Linked DNA regions of Homo sapiens: all the other regions are linked to region 3. Evidence: promoter capture Hi-C in 16 types of primary human blood cells and fetal thymus (Javierre and others, 2016). All regions are on one chromosome and are shown on one strand. Each heading gives the region's core, a stretch centred on a gene start or on the middle of the fragment in contact. The rest is flanking DNA. Distances are from core to core; before and after follow the strand shown. Region 1 overlaps POU2F2 (POU class 2 homeobox 2). Region 2 overlaps GRIK5 (glutamate ionotropic receptor kainate type subunit 5). Region 3 holds the start of CD79A (CD79a molecule).

Region 1 (3,772 bases), core at 70-2,569, 240 kb after region 3:
TTTTAATGTGTATCATATTTTAATACAAAGTTTTTTTAAAAATAGGCTGAGCGCGGTGGCTCGCCCCTTAATCCCAGCACTTTGGGAGCCAAGGTGGGAGGATCACTTGAGGTCTGGAGTTCGAGACCAGCCTGGCCAACATGGTGAAACCCCATCTCTACTAAAAATACAAAAATTAGCCAGGCATGGTGGCACACACCTGTAATCCCAGCTAATTGGGAGGCTAAGGCAAGAGAATCACCTGAAGCCGGGAGGTGGAGGTGCAGTGAGCCAAGATGGTGCCATCGCACTCCAGCCTGGGCGACAGAGCGAGACTCCGCCTCAAAAATCGCTTGAACCCAGGAGGTGGAGGTTGCAATGAGCCGAGATCATGCCATTGCACTCCAGCCCGGGTGACAGTGCGAGACTCCGTCTCAAAAAAAAAAAGTTTTAAAAAAATAATGTTGAATGCCATGGTGAGCACACTATTCCCTTTTCAGTGCTTTTTTCATTGTTTCTGGTTATCTTAAAGTCTCTGATTGGTGCTTGAATGTCTTTACCATCTCTCCAATACTAGCTAATCTCCACTTTTATTTTAATTTTTTTTTTGAGACAGGGTCTTGCTCTGTCACCCAAGCTGGAGTGCAGTGGCACCATCAGGACTCACTGCAGCCTCAACTTCCCAGACTCAAGCGATCCTCCTGCCTCTGTCTCAAGTAGCTGAGACTACAGGCATGCACACCCAGCTAATTTTTGTATTTTCTGTAGAGACAGGGTCTCACTATGTTGCCCAGGCTGGTCTTGAACTCCCGGGCTCAAGCGATCTACCCACCTTGGCCTCCCAAAGTGTTAGAACTACAGGCTTGAGCCACTGCATCTGGCCTAATCTCCTTTTTTTTTTTTTTTTGAGCTGGAGTCTTTCTCTGTTGCCCAGGCTGGAGTGCAGTGGTGCAATCTCGGCTCACTGCAACCTCTACCTCCTGGGCACAAGCAATTCTCCACAATGCCTCAGCCTCCCAAGTAGCTGGGATTACAGGCACTCACCACCATGCCCGGCTAATTTTTGTATTTTTAGTAGAGTCGAAGTTTCACCGTGTTGGCCAGGCTGGTCTCAAGCTCCTGACCTCAGGTGATCTGCCCGCTTTGTCTCCCAAACTGTTGGGAATACAGGCATGAGCCACCGCGCCCAGCCCTAATCTCCTTTTTTAATAAGCCTCTTTTTAATAAGCCTCTTTTTTAACAGGCCTCTGAGGTTTAGACCCTTCGGCACACAAGAGACTCTGGGTAAATTTTAATAATCATCATATTTATTTCCATGGCAAGTGATTCTGGTTTTCCATTTGTGAAATTTCCATTTAAAAAACATTTATTTAAAAAGCTGTCGAAAAGCAAGCCAGTTCATGAGTTGGTAATTGTTGAAGCTGATTGATGGGTATCTAGGGGCTTTATTTTCATTATAACCTTCTCTCTATTTCTGTATCCACTTCACATTTTCCATAATAAGGTGCTTTTTTAAAAAATTGAGCCAATTAACAAAATTATTATGTAAATAGTTGCGCACAGTGGTCTTATGCCTGAGACTGTGACAGAAGCACATGAATCACTTCAGTTAGGGAAAGACTGACACAGAAGAGATGGAGAGAAGTTGAGAGGCAAAGCCCAGAGAAACAGGGCGTACAGGGCGAGTTGTGGACAGAGCCCGAGGCCAGGAAGGGGAGGGAGAAACCTTCATTCCCTTGGTCCCACTGGCATCCCCAAAAGAAGGAAGCCTGCTGCCAGTTTGAGAACAGACTGCAAAGATCTGATTCAACTGAGGACAGGGTGGGGGCAATGGATACACGCTGTGCTCTGAGGGCTAAGGCAATAGCCAAACCTGCCATCAGAGGGTCAAGGAGGTCAAGATCGAGAGCCTGTCTCCCCTAGACCCCGTTCAAAGCGCTCAGCACAGAAGCAGGACATCTGCTCACAAAGCACTTTTATCCTCTCCTCTCATGGTAGCATGGGGGTACACCAGACATGGAGGCAACCACAGAGGCCATCCCATCCGACTGCCCCCTCCCCCCTGACCAATGATACTGAAGAGGAAACTGAGAGGCCCAGAGAGGGGAAGTGACTTTCCCATGGTCACAGAGCAAAGCTGTAGCAGGGTGGGGAGCAGTTCCCAGCCTCCCACCCCATCCCTCAGCCACCACTGGTCAGGGTCTGGAGTCCTGCTCACACCTTCTCTGCCCCCACCTCCAGTGCTACCTTCAAGCCTCTGGACCTGCCTGCTACCCCTGGACCAGGCTGGAGGGTGGAGACTGGAGCCCAGGCAACCCCAAGAAGCCCAGAATGCCAGGCACAGGGCCCCATCTGGATGTGGAATTTGCACTGCCTGGCTGCTTCCGGCCTCCCTGTCATTCTCTCCTGCATTCCTACAGCTATCCTCAACTGGTACCAGCCCCCCCACCCCCACCTCAGCTGGCCGCTAAATGTGTATATTGGGGGACAGGCGGTGGTGCAGGCCTCTGTTGGGTCAGGGAAGTTGGGATGGGGGCGGGCCTTTGGCTTCCTGTTGTTCATCGCCCTGGGGCTCTGGGGGGGATTTCCCTAGCCACCCCCACCCCCTAGGGAAGGGGAAGGAGCCTGCGTGAGTCACAGGCCTGGGGTGGGAGCCCAAGAGTGAGAAGGGGCGGGAGGAACCTCGTTACCAAGGTACCAAGGCTCAGTGCTCTCTCAGCCCTTGGACTGAGGCAGGCCTCCTGAGGACCCTCTTCCAAGCGCTGCCCACTTCCCTGGCTGTTCTGACAGGTGCTTACCTTTGTACTGGGGCCAGTTGGGGACACGGAGAATGGGGAGGTCTTATTTTGGGGGTTCTGCAAAGAGAAAGTAGGAGCAAGGGGATGGGAATAGTGCAGTGAAGCAGCTTCTGACCACCCCCGCTCCCTGCCCTCCTACCATAGGCGGCACAGAGCCCCCTCTGAACCCCTCTCCCCATTCCTTCCCACCCCCTCCCGCTTATCCACTCCCTCCTAACCTGATGATTAGTGTCTGGTCCATTTCTTTCGGTGTCTGCAAAGAGAGGGAAAGGATGTGTTGTCATCAGCCACCCCCACCACACCTGTCCCCTCCCAGCTCTCTTCCCATCTGTCCCACTTCCCCTGCCCACGGTGACCCCTGCCCCCCTGCTCCCTGCCCACCCACCTGTGTGCTCTGATGGGGAGTCCAGACCTTGCTTCTCGGCCTCCAGGGGCTTAGACATTCTTATTTCTGGGGACAGAGGAGGAATGGAAGTGGGGTGAAGGAGGGGAATCCAGGAGGGCTCTCGGGCCCCCATTCCACCACACTCCCCAAGCCTTTCCCCCAAATTCCCCCCTTACCCCCAGCCACCTTGGAAGTGTCTCTTCCCAAGAGACATGTCCTCCGTTCTGGGCCTCTGCCCTCCTCTGGCAAGATGAGACACAGCACTTAGGCCTTGGGGGATCTTGCCTTATCCTTTCACCTCTCCAGAAAGTAACACAGGGGTGTTACCCACAGTGCAGCAAAGGGCAGGGCAGGAGATGGAAGGTGGTCGTGAGAAGGTATCAGCTGCCCAGGAGGAGGCTGGTGACGTCCCAAAGGAGGGAGAGCAGCCTTGGGCCTCCTCCTGGGGCGGGCCGCCCAGGCTCCCGTCCTGCCCTACCAGGTTTCGGGTGAGACATGTTTTCCACTCTGAGTGGGGCCTCAGAGATGTGATGGGGCTGCAGCGTCCCCAAAGGAGGCAGTTGTCAGATCTCAGCATGTGTGATTCAGCCGCCCTCTGGCCCTCTTCCCA
Region 2 (3,767 bases), core at 767-3,266, 160 kb after region 3:
ACCACATGTGAGCCAGGCATGTGCCAGGCTCTGTGCAAATGCGCTCTCATTTAATTGCCTTAAAACTCACTGGCTGGGTGCAGTGGCTCATGCCTGTAATCCTAGCACTTTGGGAGGCCAAGGCGGACAGCTCACTTGAGGTCAGGAGTTCGAGACCAGCCTGGCCAACATGGCGAAACCCCGTCTCCACTAAAAATACAAAAATAGCCGGGCATTGTGGTGCATTCCTATAATCCCAGCTACTTAGGAGGCTGAGGCAGGAAAATCGCTTGAACCCTGGAGGCAGAGGTTGCAGTGAGCCGAGATCACGCCACTGCACTCCAGCCTGGGCGACAGAGTGAGACTCTGCCTCAAAAAGAAAAACAAAAACAAACAAACAAAAAAACCCTCTGTGAGGGAGGTAACATTAGCCCCTTTTCAAGAGGAGTGACTGACCTTCAGAGATAAGTGGCTTTGCAGGGATCATGTGGGAGCACTGGGGACCTGAAGCTGGCTCCTTCTGGCTCCTAACCAGTGCACTGCTATAGTGGACTCCATGGTGGCTACCCAGACTCTGTTTCAGGAGTGGGGCACTCATTGCCTCAGCTGCCCAGGGTGTAGGTGGCTGATGGCTCTCAGCTCTGTCAGTAGAAGAGCGTCCCCTCACCCAAAGTCCTGACTCTCCCCAAGAGCAGCCCACGTCCAGTGACATATCAGTGGGTGCTTAAAGGCCTGGCACCCTTACCACAGGGGGAGGTCCTTGACGGCCAGCTCAGCTCCAGAGCTGCCTGTGGGACAGCTAAGGCCCAGTTGTGACTGCAGCGCAGCTCAACTCCTCTGCCCAAGCCTGCTTCCTTCCCTCCTGCACAGGGCAGGTTTCCAGGGGCACGCCATCACACCTCCTGCCTCTACATCTCCATCTCAGAGTCAGCTTCCTGGGACCCTGACCTAAGATCTTCTTTGCCCTTGAAGGCTAAGCTTTATCCTGAGGGCCTCAGGGGCTTCAGTTAAAGCATACAAGTGACAGATCAGACTCACACTGTAGAAAGGTTCTATTGGAGGACAAGCTGGGGAGTGGAGAGACTAGAAGCCAGGAGGCCAGTAAGGAGGCTGATGAGAGGGGTGGGACCTGAATTCACACCATGGCAGTGATGGCAGGGAGAAGGCCAATGTCAGCCATGGCCACTGGGTGGAAAAAATGGGTCATAATTCAAGACAGGCCAAGGAGACCTGTGCCTGGCCCAGGGGTGACTGGCAGGATGGTGGTGCCCCAGGCTGTCTTCCATCTGGAAGTCACTCACCAGCTCTGGGCCACCCTGATGGGGTGCCCACCTTGGCTCTCCTGGTCACTAGCCATGGGCCTGGACATGAAACCTTGATGCCTCACTGTACATTTGAGAAAACGGGGCTAATACCAGTCCCTCTCTCACTGGGTGGCCATGAGGAGTCAAGGATGGAGACAAGTCAGAAAGCTCAGACAAGGGCCTGGCACAGCGTGCCACTCCATCAGTGTACTCCGAGCTTCCCAAGTTCCCAGCTGGAGGGCTGGAAAGGGCACGGGCCTTAAGTCAGACACACCTGGCTGCAGCCCTGTGCACTGGGGACTCCAGATCTCACACTGGGCAGTGATCCTCAGGCCATGAAGGACTGCTATGAAAATTATGTTAAGTAACACTTGAAAAGTTCCTCGCACATGGTGTGAAATCAACAAATGACAGCTGCTGCTGTTGTGATGACGGTGGTGACTATTCCTGTGCAGCTCGGCACACTCGGCTATCCCACAGCAGGGCAAGGCCAAACTCCGCCTATCCTTCACGCTCCAGCTCCTCCTCCAGTGTTCTCCCTGTAAATGTCATTGCCATCACCCAGATGCCCAAGCCAGACACAGGAGGAATGCTCTCCCTCCTGTCCTCTCCTGCATCCCCCACCCTAGGCAGTCACCAAGCCCTGGTGCTCTTTAGCCCTTCCCCTAGTCTCTAGCTCTGACGTTCTCCCGCCTGAGGCCCACCAGCTCATTCCTTATCTCCTCACTGGTCTTCCTGTTACCACTGCTTCCCCCAACCCCAGGGCCAATTCACTTGAGCCAGATCAAAACCCTTCAAGGGTGGCCGGGCATGGTGGCTCATGCCTGTAATCCCAGCACTCTGGGAGGCTGAGGCAGGTGGATCACCTGAGTTCAGGAGTTTGAGACCAGCCTGGCCAACATGGCGAAACCCATCTCTACTAAAAATACAAAAATTAGCCAGGTGTGGTGGCATGCGCCTGTAGTCCCAGCTACTCAGGAGGCTGAGGCAGGAGAATCATTTGAACCCACGAGGCAGAGGTTGCAGTGAGCCAAGATCACCCCATGGCACTCCAGCCTGCCTGGGCAGCAGAGCCAGAGTCCGTCTCAAAACAAAAACAAAAACAAAACTCTTCAAGGGCATCCCATGGGCTTTCTGCTGAGGCCCAAACCCTTTAGCCCACTCAGTAAGAGCACATCGGGCTTGTTCACCATGGTATCCCCAGGGTATAGCACAGGGCTTGGTATACAGTAGGCACTCAACAAACATTGGCTGAATGGAAAATGGATGAACACACAAATCTATGTATGTGCTGGCCATGCTGGTATGAATAATAACAATAATAAAAATAGTATAATCCCAGCACTTTGGAAGGCTGAGGTGGGAGGATTGCTTAAGCCCAGGAGTTCAAGACCAGCCTAGGCAACAGGGCCAGACCCCATCTCTACAAAAAACACAAAAATTACCTAGGCATTATGGCATATGCCTATAGTCCCAGCAACTCGGGAGGCTGAGGTGGGAGGATCGCTTGAGCCCAGGAGGTGGAGGCTGCAGTGAGCTGTGATTGCACTACTGCGCTCCAGCCTGGGCAACAGAGAGAGACCCAGTCTCAAAGGAAAAAAAAAAAAGGACACACGCATACAGCACCCACTATGCACCAGGCCCTGTTCTAAGTTCTTCACTGCATGTTGTTCTTCAAAACAACCCTATGTGCTAAAGGGCTGTTATTCCCCAATTTTACAGTTGAACAAACTACAACCTAAAGAAATGTTAAGCACTTGCCCAAAGCCACACAACCAGTGCACAGCAGAGCTAAGCTTTAAACAGCCAACCACAGACACTCTCAGCTGCCACACTTTGCTGGCCCCAGGCCCCAAATCCTCTCACCCTACCCTACTGAGTAGGCCCTGAGACACAAAGGTCAGACAGCTGTAAATAAGAACTGTTCCAGACTTCTCTGTTGGTGAAAAAAGGGCATCCAGTTTAGAGTGACTTCAGGTGCAGGGCTACTCCCTTGGAGCCTGCTTATTTCTGGGATACCAGATGAAAGAATATTTCTGAGCCTACGTGACTAAAGACCAGGCTGTGGAAACAGGTCACGAGGAAGCCTGTGCCCTCAGGTGGGCATAGAGCTGTCAGCTCTGGGGCTTCTCATCTCCTGTCTCACCCGGGGCCTCTTTGGGCTTCAGGCTTTAAAATTCACCCTGGGCTGGGTGTGGTGTCTCATACTTGTAATCCTAGCACTTTGGGAGGTGAGGTGGGCGGATCACTTGAGGCCAGGAGTTCAAGACCAGCCTGGCCAACATGATGAAACCTGTTGCTCCAAAAAATACAAAAATCAGCCAGGCACGGTGGCGCACCTGTAATCCCAGCTACTCGGAAGGCCGAGGCAGGAGAATCGCTTGAACCCGGGAGGTGGAGGTTGCAGGGAGGCAGAGGTTGCTGTGAGCAGAGATCGTGCCATTGCACTCCAGCCTGGGCAACAGAGGAGACTCTGTCTCCAAA
Region 3 (3,824 bases), core at 1,159-3,658:
GCTACTCAGGAGGCTGAGGCAGGAGAATCACTTGAACCCGGGAGGCGGAGGTTGCAGTGAGCCAAGATCACACCATCGCACTCCAGCCTGGGCTACACAGCGAGACTCTGTCTCAAAAGAAAAAAAAAATTAAAAATAGCCAGGCATGGTGTGTGCACCTGTAATCCCAGCTACTTGGGAAGCTGAGGCAAGAGAATCACTTGAGCCCAGGAGTTTGACGTTATGATTATGCCACTGGACACCAGCCTTGGTGACAGAGAGAGGCCCTATCTCTAAAAAAGAAAAAAAAAAAAGTGGCCAGCCACGGTGGCTCCCGCCTGTAATCCCAGCACTTTGGGAGGCTGAGGTGGGTGGATTACCTGAGGTCAGGAGTGTGAGACCAGCCTGCCCAACATGGTGAAACCTGGTCTCTACTAAAAATACAAAAATATAGCCAGGCATGGTGGTGGCCGCCTGTAATCCCAGCTACTGAGGAGGCTGAGGCAGGAGAATCACTTGAACCTGGGAGGCAGAGGTTGCAGTGAGCCAAGATCACGCCACTGCACTTCAGCCTGGGTGACAAAGCGAGACTCCGTCTCAAAAAAAAAAAAAAAAAAAGTAACACAGGAAATAAAACCAAGACAAGATGAGCTCTCTGTGTCTCTGTGTGTCCCTCCCCAGACCCAACCCTGGCGTCCCCCAGAGGTAACCCCTCCCAGGAACTGGGCGTTTGCCACTCCCCTGCACGGGTCTACACCTCTGCTACAAACGTGTGTCCCTAAGCAGCGGACGCCTTTTGAAAACAAGTCAACTGTATCATGCTACGATATTTTTTCTGATGTTTGTGCTGTTTCTGAGACAGCCTTATGACACCTTCCCCTATTCTGTAGCATTCTGTTGGCTCACTTTGCCACAGTGTATGCACCCATTCTCCCACAAATGGACTTTTCATTTGCTTCTCAATGTTTGCTACCAAAAATCTCCCTGCAATAAATTTATTTTATATATCCCCTTGTATGTGTGTGAGGGTCCCCTAACTGCTCACAAATATCTCAGCAACTCCGCCCTCCCCACTCAGACCTCATTTCCCTCCTACCAGACATGCTCAAAGGAAACTGGGAGCAACACAAAGATGACTTTGAATCTCTGTCCACCACCCCTAGACTGTATGACACCCGCAAGTGACAACCTCCCCTCTCTGGCCTCGGTTTCCCCCTCTGTAAAATGGGGGATGGCCTACCTTGCCAGTCATGGCAGGTCAATATAAAACAACTTCTGGCTGTGCACAGTGGCACATGCCTGTAATCCCAGCACTTTGGGAAGCTGAGGCAGGAGGATTGCTTGAGGCCAGGAGTTCAAGACCAGCCTGGGCAATATAGCAAGATCCCATCCCTCTTAAAAAAAAAAAAGAAGAAAAATATATGTTGTTGTTGTTATTATTGTTATTATTAGAGACAGAGTTTCGCTTTTGTCACCCAGGCTGGAGTGCAATGGTGTGATCTCAGCTCACTGCAACCTCCACCTCCTGGGTTCAACTGATTCTCCTGCCTCAGCCTCCTGAGTAGCTGGAATAATAGGCATGTGCCACAACATCTGGCTAATTTTGTATTTTTAGTAGAGATGGGGTTTCGCCATGTTGGCCAGGCTGGTCTCAAACTCGACCTCAGGTGATTCTCCTGTCTCAGCCTCCCAAAGGGCTGGGATTACAGGCATAAGCCACCATAGCTGGCCTGTTTTTTTAAAAAAAGAATTCCAGTAAAGAGCTGATCATGGTTCTCACTCCTTGAATACCAGGAACACCATCTCGTATCACATAATGAGACAGGGAGACATTCTGGTCCTCATCTCACAGATGAAAAATGTCAAGCTTCGAAGGATCAAAGTGCCCACCTAGTCACACGGGTAGTCAGCCACAGGTCAGCCTGCCTTATTTATTCTTCATGAGTATTTATAGTGACTAACATTTACTGGGCGCCTACTGTGGGCCATTTCTGTGCATGTGACAACCCCTTTAAGTCCTTGTTTCTAATCCCAAGAAGCAAGGAAATGGGGTCAGGGAAGGGACAAGGTTTGCCCAAGTCCAGGCAGGGGGAGAGGTCAAGCTCAGAACCATCACCTGCCCATGACACATGCCCAGGACTCAGGTTCCCTAGGCTTCCTTCCAAAGGCTCAGCAGTGACGAGCCAGCCCTTGAACCAGCCTCTTCCCCCACCCAAGCAGCCACCTCTCAGGGGAATTGTGGCCACCACAGGTGCAGGGAGCAGTTTCTCTCCACTCACAGCCTGAAGCATACCCGGCAGGGGCTGTCCCCAGGCCCAACAAGCAAAGGGCCCAGTAGCGAGGGCCACTGGAGCCCATCTCCGGGGGGCTGGGCAGGAAGTAGGGTGGGGTTTGGGGTAGGGATCTGGTACCCTGGGACTGCTGCAACTCAAACTAACCAACCCACTGGGAGAAGATGCCTGGGGGTCCAGGAGTCCTCCAAGCTCTGCCTGCCACCATCTTCCTCCTCTTCCTGCTGTCTGCTGTCTACCTGGGTATGTGGCCAAAGGGCAGGAACTGGCGGGAGGTGGGGGAAGCTGTGGAGGCTGCAGAGAGGGCACAGGCAGAGGGAAGGGGGCTCAGGGAAAGGGGAAGAGGAGGCAGAGGATAGGGGACCCAGGGAAGATGCCTATAGAAATCGTATCTGTGCCAAGATGGGCCAAGGTGGGGCTGGAGGGAGCCCAGCGAAGGAGAAGGGGCGTCCACAGTCTCACACAGGGAGGCAGGAGCAAGAGTCACCTCCCCCACCTCCTGTTCCCCACAGGCCAAAATAAGGAACTAAAGTTGCTCTTGACTGAGCACCAGGGCTGGGGGCAGGAAGGGGACTTAGGGGTAGCAGCATTCAGCGTCTGTCAAGGGGAGAAAAAGCTTTCTCTGCCTTAAACCTCAGGTGCCTCTCTCTGTTGGGAGTCCCTTCTCAGCACTGGGGGAATGGGTGTCTCATGGACTCCCCCTCACCTGCTCAAGGACAGCTGGCAGGGGCTGTGGCCACGCTAACCCAGGAGTTCAGAGAAAAAGGTTCCCCACCCAAGGGGACACTGGGAGCAAGGATTGGAGTTCACGTCTGAGTCTTAAGCCCGTGACGATGAGGGTGCTCGGCCCCTCTCCCCATCTCTTCCTCCTTCTCTCTTCCTCACCTCCCTCCTCCACCTACCTCCAGAAGAGGGGACTGGCCATGTGGGAGGCCTGGCTGAGAGCTGGGGCTTCCCAGAGGAGCCCGGATTGGACACTGCAGCCAGCCTGAGCCGCCTCGTCTCACTCAGAGACACCCCCAGTCTCCACCCCGCTCTGAGCCCCTTCAATCACCAGCAGCCCAGCCCAAGGACTGAACTCACCCCTGACCCCTAGGTTGACACATACAACTTACAGAGAATGAGGGCCAGGCACAGGGTCACAGGCCAGGGCAGGCCACAGACTGGCTCCTCAGCCCAGGCAGGGAGAGGCCAGGGAGCCAAGAGTTTGAACCCAGTGCCACTCCTGACTGCCTGGTGATGCTGGCAACCCGCCTGCCCTCCCAGAGCCTCAGCCATCCCTCCTGTAAAATGGGGCTAAGGAGAGAACCTACTTCTAGGGTTCTGTGAATGATTACACAAGAAAAAGCGCCAGGTGCTGGGCCTGGCTGAGGCTGGGGTGCAAAAATGGACCGGGAAGGCTGCGGGAGGAGGGGACGCCTGCACTGCTTCTGGAAGGAGCTGTCTGGACAGCGGTCCTCCAGTGCCTGGAACAAACATCCAAAATCCAGAGAGTTCACAGGGCCAGAGTACAAAGTGGGTATGCGGGAGGGGGGCAAGAGATGGCGCTGCAGA

What was found. Contacts are between HindIII fragments. The CHiCAGO score rates a contact against its expected background, and 5 or more counts as called.
Region 1: a fragment that was not itself captured here is called in contact with the fragment with the promoter of CD79A in region 3 in 1 of 17 cell types (non-activated CD4 T cells); the score reaches 5.5 in non-activated CD4 T cells.
Region 2: a contact is called between a fragment that was not itself captured here and the fragment with the promoter of CD79A in region 3, in 8 of 17 cell types (fetal thymus, total B cells, naive CD4 T cells and 5 more). The highest score is 8.1, in fetal thymus.

What each region holds. Positions count from the first base shown.
Region 1 is chr19:42,119,349-42,123,120 of GRCh38, forward strand. POU2F2 (POU class 2 homeobox 2) reads right to left here. Exons shown (of 15, transcript NM_001394376.1): 2 at 3,163-3,228; 3 at 2,996-3,030; 4 at 2,778-2,834. Among named protein-coding and RNA genes, the nearest start is that of POU2F2, 11 kb to the right of the region's middle. RefSeq lists a silencer at 2,652-2,731. The HindIII fragment of the contact is 8,206 bases long and covers 1-3,772 here.
Region 2 is chr19:42,037,107-42,040,873 of GRCh38, forward strand. All of the region lies in intron 12 of GRIK5 (glutamate ionotropic receptor kainate type subunit 5), which reads right to left. Among named protein-coding and RNA genes, the nearest start is that of GRIK5, 31 kb to the right of the region's middle. The HindIII fragment of the contact is 2,122 bases long and covers 956-3,077 here.
Region 3 is chr19:41,874,871-41,878,694 of GRCh38, forward strand. CD79A (CD79a molecule) reads left to right here and starts at 2,409. Exons shown (of 5, transcript NM_001783.4): 1 at 2,409-2,513. The coding sequence starts at 2,435. RefSeq lists an enhancer at 1,074-1,143 and a silencer at 2,551-2,610. The HindIII fragment of the contact is 1,040 bases long and covers 1,845-2,884 here.